Regions from separate parts of the Homo sapiens genome. Here region 1 is linked to region 2. The links are contacts of gene promoters, found by promoter capture Hi-C in human tissues and cell types (Jung and others, 2019). All regions are on one chromosome and are shown on one strand. Each heading gives the region's core, a stretch centred on a gene start or on the middle of the fragment in contact. The rest is flanking DNA. Distances are from core to core; before and after follow the strand shown.

Region 1 (5,237 bases), core at 667-3,166, 78 kb before region 2:
AGACTAATGATAAACTTATCTTCAATATGCAATTGATAGCTTTCACACCAACGAGTAAAAGTGAAAAAATAAAGAAAACTTTATCATTTCAGTATGAGGCAGTAAAGGAGGGTGGCAAGCAAAGGAAAAGAAGAGATGGAAGTAACTTCAAATGTAGTAGGAATCACACTACAGGTAAATGGATTAATTTACCTATTAAAATCAGAGAATTTTGAAATCAGGTAGATTTTTTTTAAAAAACTCTTAACTGTATGTGCTTACAAGACAATCCTAAAACAAAATGGAACACAAAAGTCAAAAAATTATGGAGTAATATATACCAGGTAAGTGCTAGCCAGAAGAAAGCTGGCAGTATAATTTTAGTATCAGACAAAATAGGATTTAAGACAAAACATGATACTAGGGATAAAATGAAAAACCCACGAAGAGAATGTAACTATCATAAACATGTATATGTACACCTAGTAATGTAGCTTGAAATATATACAGCAAAACTGGCCAAATTTCAAAATGACATTAACAAATCCCCATTAGTGGATAGCTTTATTTTAACATAGTTTTTATACATATGATATACCTGCATAAATGTAAAGAAACTGTAAGTGCACAGTTCAATTAATTTTCATTTATCAAATTCTGTACCTGGCACCCAGACTGAGAAACAGATCATCAGCATTCCAGAATCCCCTTGTTCCGTTTCCAGTTACTTGAACTCAAGGGTAAACATTATCTCAAATTCTAACACTATAGGATGATTTTGATTGCTTTTTAACTCTATATAAGTGGAATAATATACTAAGCATTCTTTTGTGTTTAGCTTCTTTTTTTCAGCATTATGTTTGGGAGCTGTATCCAATTGTTGCATCTAGATATAGTTAGTATGGGTGAATATACCAAAATTTGTGTTTACATTCTACTGTTGATGGACATTGCAGTTGTTTCTAGTTTTGCATCTCACAAATTGAGCTACTATAAAGATTATTATAAGTGCCTTTTGGTGAAGTTACATGTATATTTCTGTTGGGAGGCTTTCCTAGGAGTGAAATTTCTGGGTAATAGGTGTATGCATGTGTTTAACGTTAGTACATACTGGCAAACAGCTTTGTAATGTTGTAGTAATTTATATTTCCCCCAGGAGTGAATGATAAATCTGGCTGCTTTGAATCCTTACCAACAGTTTTTCTTTCTTTCTTTCTTTTCTTTTTCTTCCTTATTTTATTTTATTATTTTTTATTTTTTTGAGACAGAGTCTCCCTCTGTTGCCCCGGCTGGAGCGCAGTGGCACGATCTTGGTTCACTGCAACCTCCACCTCCTGGGTTCAAGCAATTCTCCCACCTCAGCCTCCTGAGTAACTGGGATTACAGGAGCCCGCCACCACATCTGGCTAATTTTTGTGTTTTTAGTAGAGACAGGGTTTCACCATGTTGGCCAGGCTTGTCTTGAACTCCTGACCTCAGGTGATCCACCCGCCTCAACCTCCCAAAGTGCTGGGATTACAGGTGTGAGCCACCATGCCTGGCCCCAGTACGTTTTCATTTTAACCATTCTGAATCAAGCACTGGTATTTGTTGTTTTAACTTTTATTTCAGTAAATGAAGTTGCACCTCTTTTCATACGTCTATTGGTTCTTTGAATATCCTTTTATGTGAAGTTTCTTTAAAGTCTTTTGTCTATTTTCCTACTGGGTTGAATGCTTTTTCCTTATGGATTTATAAGAGTTTTTTTAATGTTTATTCTAGATAGGAATACTTTGTAGGATATATCTAACCATGGGAGATTGATAGCTCAAGCAAAAGAGCAAAAACAGTAAGAATAAATAATATTTAGGAGCGTCATGATATGTATTTTTAAGACTGACAAATAGAGAATTTGCATCCTTTTTAAGCATACATAGGCTGTTTATAAAAATTGACCATGTCACAAAGAAAGTCTTAATAACAGCTTAAAAAAATCAGTATTATACAGTACTGATTTATACTTGTTATCAGTATATAATGAGATCAGATCATATTTTCTAGCTATTAAAATATAAATCAACAATAAAACACCAGTTTTTTTAAAATGCTCCCTTAGTGCCCTGTAATAAATGACTGGACTTGAAGCTACTTTGGAAATTAGGACTATAAAAGGTTTACCCATCATGATTATGGCTCTGTGAGAGGAAGCATGTGGGAAGACCAAAAGTAACTAGTGGAAAATCAGTGGCAGCACATCCATTTTCCAGGTTTAGGAAATGCTGCAGGCTATGTCTCTCTAGGCTAAATAAAGGCTGAGATGTGAGAGCGCTAGAGAAAATAAATAAATAAATAATCTGACCACTGTTCTTAATTCAACCCAGTGTTTCACATTTTATTCATACATAAAAATTCTTTTATCAAAGGACAACTATTAACATCTTAAGGAACAGTTTGGAAAAACTAACCTAGAGATTTTAATTCTTTGTCTCTTCCTCTTGTAGCTCACATAAAACGCTTTATTTGATTTTCCTGGTACCCAAACTAGGAAGTCATCAGAAGACTTTTGCTAGCATTCTGTCATTCTTTGACTCTGTAACTCATTAATGTTTTGTTTTTCTTATATCTCCTGGAGGATTTTTAAAGTGGAGTTAGGGGTTTTTTTTGCTTACTTTATGATCACGAGAAAATGCTTTCATCATCTTTTGTTTACTAAAGCAAAGTATAATGGTTATAAACTAACTATGAAAGTTAAATGTAAAAATACACTAAAAGATAGTAACAAAGTTCAAAAGTTGGAAAATGTTAATTATTACTCTTTTCCTGTTTTTTTCTTTACTGTCTTTGAAGACAAATGGGGGAAGCCTTTGATCATCTGTGTTTTCCAAAATACATATTTTCTGTTACTATTAGATAAACACAAAAACTGAACTATGAAGTTCAAACCAAATGTTTCAACCACATCTCATTAAAAGCAATGTTTACATACTTAGTAGGAGAAAAGAAAAACAATTTGCATTTTATCTTTTATCCTATTTTATCTTAGTATTCTAGGATAAATATATTAATAGTATAAAATATTGAGAAATAGTACACAGTTTTCTTGAAATTATGTCTACTTCAAATTTCAGTATATATAGCCAATTAATTTGACTTCCTGAATCTGCTCCAGAATCTTTAGTATATCTGTAGATGGAAATTAAGAAAGGAAAAAATATCTATAAATGTTAGAGCTGACAATTTTTCTAGTAATTTTGGCAGGATAGACACTTGATCTGAATAAAAGCAGAACTAAAGATTCATCCTTACCTTTTGTAAAGTGTAAATTTTATTTATCTCATAGAAAGGTACATCTTAGTAGAAAAGTGATTTATAAATCATAAGTGCTCATTTCTAGGGAGTTAACAATTTGAAATTCCTTGGACAGAATAAGTATTAAATATTGCTTTAAGTATCAGATATTATTTTTTCAAGATCAATTTGTTCTGCAAGTCTTTGTGGCACACCTACTAATGGCCAAACAGGGTGTTTGGCACTTGGAATTGTACTTGAATAAAAACTTCAAGGTATTCAAATTTAGTGGAAAACATAGATGGATGGCAAATTGATACAACAATATGCAACAGTTATTAACACATAACTGACTTCCACTTTTGGGAAGAAAGTGGCATAATATTTTTCAAGTGCTGAAAGAAAAGAACTGTCAAGTCAGAATCATCTACCAGTGAAAACATTTTTCAAGAATGAAAGGAAATTCAAGACATTCAGAATTGAAGGAAAACAGAATTTATCATAGCAGGCCTATCCTAACAAAATGACTGGAAGGAAATTCTCCAAATAGAAAGGAATGATTTAAAAAAGTGTTTTAAAGGAACCCAGGATTTGTTTTAATCAGATATGGTAAGACACACAGATACAGAAATGACTGTCATGAAGGAAGAAGTTTTTCATACTAACAGATTCCTAGAAACAGGAGGCTTGGCATGCTATGCAGGGCCGCAATGGGAAGTAATGCAGTCCATCAGTATGCAGAGGGAGATCGACTAGGGGTGAGCAGAACATGAGCTAGGAGCCTTTATTCTGGTTTCCAAGAGAAGGAACAGGAGATGATGGGTAAGCAGGTGTAGAATTGGCTAGTTTGCATAATTTCGGTGGGCTCTAGAAATTGGAACTATTGCTAGCTATCTGTTACCTGGCACTGGAATGATTAGGGCAGCCGGATAATGGCCCAGAGTGTGAGAGGCTGACAAAGTGCGTTGTTGGGGACATGGGCTCTGGTTTGGTTGGTTTGGATGTAAATGGTAAGTTTTTTACTATCGTTAGGAATTACCTAGCCCTGGGAGGGGCAGTCTCTCCAGGGTCAACAAGGCCCCAAGATACCAATGTACAAAAATCAGGATAAAAAATATATAATTAACACAAGAAGAAATCCTGAAACACCAGAAAAGAAGAGAGGACAATGGAGAGTAAAAATGTGGGTAAATAAAACACATCATCATTTTTCTCTTGAGTTCCCTAAATTACAATTGACAAATGAAGCAAAAATTATAACACAGGCTGCTGTAAAGTATACAAGCCCTGTGCATGTTTTGTTACATTTACACTAAGTACAGTCATGTATCATTTAACAACAGGAATATATTCTGAGAAATGCATCATTAGGTGATTGTATTGTGGTGTGAACATCATAGAGTATATTCAGACAAACCTAGATGGTATAGCCGACTATACACCTAGGCTATATTGTATAGCCTATTGCTCCTGAGCTACAATGCTGCAAACAATTGTAAGGCAATTGGAAGTATTTGTGTATCTAAAGATATCTAAAGATAGAAAAGGTACAGTGAAAATAATTTATTATAATATTAGGAGACTGCCACTGTCATATATGTAGTCCATTGTTGACAGAAGCATTATCTGTGCATGACTATACTTCATTTCTTGAACATGCAAAATAAGTAGTTAAGTCAGGGGACAATGTGTAAAAAGGCACAGCGAGTATGAAGCACCTTCAATGTGGCTTCAGAATAGGGAGGCAAGGGGAGATCATCAGGGGATAAGCTGGAGGAGGACTGGGGTCTAGGTTGTGAAGAGTCATGCATGAGTCACTGAGGAACTGAAAGTTAGGAGTTTTGTGGCTGAAGATGTCCAAGCAGTGGGTAATGAATCATGCAGAAGAAATACGTGCTGAAATTTGTATTTTAGGTTTATTTTGATGGGATGATACTAATAGCTTTATATGTGGTAACAATAACAATATAAACATTATTACTATACATTAT
Region 2 (4,761 bases), core at 290-2,789:
TACACACCAGGCACATTTAGAAGGACATTGCTAACCATGGTTTCTAAATATCTTCTCACTCTACTCCTGCTTATTCTTTTTCACCTTGTTTTATTTTTCTTCATCTTCACCTGATGTCATCACTGCTCCATCCCCAGCTCTGAGAGGTAGCTGGCACGTAGCTGGTTACTGGTAGTCATTGCATGAATAAACCTAAAAGATAGGAATTCTGGTTTTACAAAAGAGACCAAGACTTATAACTTAAATGATTTACTGCTCATGATTGTGCAACTTTTAAGTCACAAATCCGGGATTTAAACCTAGGTGTGAAGGCAAAGCCCATGTTCCTTCTGCAAGCGCTCCTCTAAATGTATGTCTTCACAGAGCTATTAACCCCTCTTTTTTTGTTTAACACGGTTATGTAAAAAGAAAAAAAAACTGAGCTGGCAGTTACAGAAAAGTTATAGCTTTCAAGAGCCTGACAGTCTAGTTAGGAAGCAAAATATCTAGAAATCCAACAAGTGCAAAGCAGTGTCTAGATAAGGAGGGAAACTCACAGGCAGTAATAGCAGAGGAGGGTGAGCTCGGCCTGGTGCTGGGCTGATGAGCACTTTGACTTGGCAGGAGGTCTGTTGTCTGTGGAACAAGATAAGTAAATTGCTTGTACAACCCTTCTCTCCAATCATTGAATCTGAATCCCTGTTACCATTTAATGCCTGAAAATAGTAGATTCTTTTACCTTTTAGCATAGAGGAGATGGTGGAAGGTGACAGAAGAAAGGCACATTTTGAAGGGAGTGTGGAGAGTTTGTGGGCTAAGAGATGAAGAGGTAGGAAGCTGGCATGGCGGCTCATACGTGTAATCCCAGTGCTTTGGGAGGCAGAGCCCAGCTGATAGCTTGAGGCCAGGAGTTGGAGACCAGTCTGGACAACATAGTGAGATCCCATCTCTTAAAAAAAAAAAAAATAGCGGAGCGTGCTGGCGCACGACCAAAGCCCTAGCTACTCTGGAGGCTAAGGTGGGAGGACTACTTGAGTCCAGGAGTTCGACGTTACAATGAGCTATCAGCATGCCACTGCACTTTAGCCTGAGTGACAGAGCCAGAGACTGTCTCTGAAAAGAAGAAGAAAAGATAGAGAAAGGCACTTGGAGGAATTGAGATTGTTTTCCGTAGGAAAGAGAAAAGGTATGGGGGTGGGAGACGATGAGGTGAGGAGCTAACTTCAAGAAATCTCATCCAGAAGTTAGTGGAGTGCCCTTAACACTTAATTGGGAAATGTCTTCAGTTTCCTGCACTTGAAGGATTGTTGTCTCTTCCTGGAAGAGAGGATTTAGATTTATTCTCCTGGGGAACAAACGATGGAATCAAAGGCTAAAAGCCTGGCGGGAATACATTTCTACTCAATACAAAGAATTTAAAAGGAGCTACACGCACTGCCTCAGGCGGTGGTGAGCCTGTTTCAAACAGAGGCAGGCTGCTTCCTGAGGAACCAGCCCCTCGGGGCTTGACGCCCTGATCCCGGGTCGCTGGCCGGGGGCGGAGACGGGGATAGCGAGCTGAGTGTGCGAGCGCCAGGGGTTCCAGCTGCACGTCCCAGGCTCTCCAGCGCGCGGCAGGCCGGGGCGGGACGAGGAGAGCTGCGGGGACAACGCCTGTGGCTGGGTCCGGAGGTGCGGGTGCGGCGCGGGACAAGCGGGCAGCATGCTCAGGGCGGTCGGGAGCCTACTGCGCCTTGGCCGCGGGCTAACAGTCCGCTGCGGCCCCGGGGCGCCTCTCGAGGCCACGCGACGGCCCGCACCGGCTCTTCCGCCCCGGGGTCTCCCCTGCTACTCCAGCGGCGGGGCCCCCAGCAATTCTGGGCCCCAAGGTCACGGTGAGCCAGGGCTCCGACGGGGAGGTCCTGGGAGGGAGGAGGTTGCGGGAGGGCAGCGAGGGGCCGGCCCGGGAGTCGGCTTGAGGGCGCGCTGATCCTCTGTGCCGGTGCGTCAGTTCCCGCGTCCATCTGGGTTGCTTTCGCTGCAGGGGAGATTCACCGAGTCCCCACGCAGCGCAGGCCTTCGCAGTTCGACAAGAAAATCCTGCTGTGGACAGGGCGTTTCAAATCGATGGAGGAGATCCCGCCTCGGATCCCGTAAGTGTGGCGACCGCCGCGCGAAGGAGAGTCGGTCCCCGGCCGCAAGGGTGCGGGGTGACCCACCTTCCGACCGCGGCCACCTAGGAGCGAAAGCGGCCGCAGTGCCAACACTTCGCAATATCACCCACCACACACGGAGTTTACCCACACACACACCCCGCCTCCAGTGCGGTGTGTCAAGAGTCAATTAAGCTTACAGGGAGATTGCAGAAGGTGGGTGAAAACTGAGAGGTTCAGGGGACACTTCCAGCACCGCCCAGATTGCCGGTCCCCAGCAAGCTCCGAACTGGGAGGCAGTGGGGCTCTTGTGCCAAACAGGCCACGGTCCTCGCGAGCATCCGGATGGCTGCCGGGACGCCAGACCGCAATCCAGGCTTTGGCCGGGGGCGTCCCCCTACCCCACCCAAGGAAGGGGTTCTCTGATCTTGGCTTGCGGGGCGGCTGTGGCGGGGGGGTCTCTGGAAAAAAGACGCATCCATGCGGCCTCCTCTTCTGGGGCAGGAGACGCCTGGCGGACGTGTTTCTGCAGCCCTCTAGGCTCCGGGTTTACTCAGGGTGGGACGCGCGGGAGTGTCAGCACTGTGGGCCTCTTCAGCATGCTAAACCCACCAAGACAGATGATAAAACTCAAACTAATAACTCCCCCTCTAAGGTAATGTAACCTGTAAAATAAATGCTAATAATAAGTAAATGTAACCTGTAAAAAAATCTTTCCAAAGTTTCTGTTTCTGCCAAGCCCAAAAACCTTCGCAGCATTTTTACAAGGGATTGGGTAAAAAAGAGAGGGACGGAAACTAAAAATAAAATCAATCTACTACTTTTTAAGTTTATCTTTTAAAAATAAAAGACTAAAACCATAACGTGAAAGAAGGATTTTAGATATTCTGTATATTTGTACAATGTAATGAATGCCTATTAGAATGGATAATGGAAACTGGGCCTATATTTCTGTTTTTCACATGGTGCCTGCCATGTTATTGTTTATAAACAATTGCAGTTTATCAGTTACCAAAGCATCTCAGATAGCTAGGGGGTGGGGTGGGAGAACATGGCAGGAAATGTACACTCAGTAATGAATTCTGAAGCATTTTCGTTCTTTTATTGGAGCAAGTCACCAAATGAGAAATGGACATGGAATTTGAAATAACACTGCATTTGAATCCGTTTTCAGTATTTATTCAACTACAGAGGCACTTTCTAAGATTATTTTTCCTCGAGATCTATAGACTCCAAACTACAGACTTAGCTGAAAGCAAAAGTTAGCCTCAGAAAAGTCTTTATCATCATAAGCTCTGGTTATCAAATTTTAATTGATGCCTGAAAATTTAATACTATAAATGCCAAAGAAGTAAAAAAAAAAAAAAAAATTAAAATAAGTAAGCCACCACCCTCAATTGGTTTGAATTTTTATTTCTAGTGGCCTAACCAAGTAATCAAGAGTGTAAAGAACCAACATTATTGCATATTGTTTGTCAAGAAAACCTATGCCCAGTATTGCATTTAACATAGCTGTATTTGTGAACAGACTCATTTTACAGAAATAATGTAATTTCCCCAAGATCATAGTCAAAAGATGTATTATAAACAGGAGCATTTCACTAAGAACAGGATGCCTATAAAAAGCATTGCAGTTTTGCATTGGAAACATAAAAGTATTTGAGTATTTTTCATTTTATTATTTTTCTATAACTTTTTAAGCATTACTATTTAAGAGAGATATTCCTGTTAAGCTAAGTGTCACACTTACAATGTAAACAGCTTTTACCTTTTAATGGACATATAATGAACAAGTGACCTATAATTTTTGTATCATACACTAATTGTGTTTAATAATAACTGTACTTTGTCTTGTTTTTCTCAGTGCTAAACTAATTTGTTATAATAGATTAAAGCCAAATGGCTGGGTAAAAAAGATCAGAGCTTCTAGGTTCCATCTGGAACAAAAGTTAGCAGCAAATATAATCTAATAATTTCTCCATACTCACTAATTGGACCTGTTTGCAACTAACATCTTAAAACTTACATCACTCTGCCTAAAATCTAAAGAAAATAGGCTAGATAGGAGTTTTCTGTAGTCTTTTAACCAGTGGAAAATTTAAAAAGTTTTCTGTTTTTAAGAGAAAATGCAACTTTGTCTTTCTGGATTTTTTTTTTCAATGTAACTACACTCTATTTAAACTGCACATAGAGAGGAAAGAATACCAATGAATATATTATAATGAATGAAATTCTTTAAATATGCATATTTATAATCTGCCACTTCATATCATTGAAAATTGTTAAAGTTTATTTCAACGTAAAAGTCCCACAGGCATGATGCCTTTTGTATTACTACTTTGTAAGTAGTATTATTAAAATCTTGGACAACATGCATAAAACTATGAATGAATATTTAGAATTTAAGTATATCAAATTTCAGTATAATAATAACATTAAAATGAAGGTCTCTTTTATCTTTTTCCTCGGCAAATTATTGTGATTTTGATCACGTTTAACAAAAAATTATTGCAAAAGCCATGAAGGAAACATTTTTCTAACAGACATTCTCACAAGCTGGATAATAGTGTGTCTTTTGGGGGTAGCATGTGAAGGGACAAGAGATTGGGAGGCGAGTGAAAAAAACAAAATGATAAAAATGAGTTTTAAA

What was found. The method cuts DNA at HindIII sites, captures the fragments that hold promoters and counts their contacts. A contact is called where the count stands out against the background at its distance.
Region 1: a contact is called between a fragment that was not itself captured here and the fragment with the promoter of FAM162B in region 2, in 2 of the 25 tissues and cell types used here (H1 embryonic stem cells and mesendoderm cells).

Annotation. Positions count from the first base shown.
Region 1 is chr6:116,840,116-116,845,352 of GRCh38, reverse strand. No RefSeq gene overlaps it. Among named protein-coding and RNA genes, the nearest start is that of GPRC6A, 14 kb to the right of the region's middle. The HindIII fragment of the contact is 7,759 bases long and covers 1-5,237 here.
Region 2 is chr6:116,762,497-116,767,257 of GRCh38, reverse strand. FAM162B (family with sequence similarity 162 member B) reads left to right here and starts at 1,539. Exons shown (of 4, transcript NM_001085480.3): 1 at 1,539-1,853; 2 at 2,003-2,111. The coding sequence starts at 1,682. It overlaps LOC105377963 (a long non-coding RNA gene), which reads right to left and starts at 890. Exons shown (of 3, transcript XR_942910.3): 1 at 719-890; 2 at 537-615; 3 at 1-192. RefSeq lists an enhancer at 2,004-2,518. The HindIII fragment of the contact is 7,101 bases long and covers 1-3,761 here.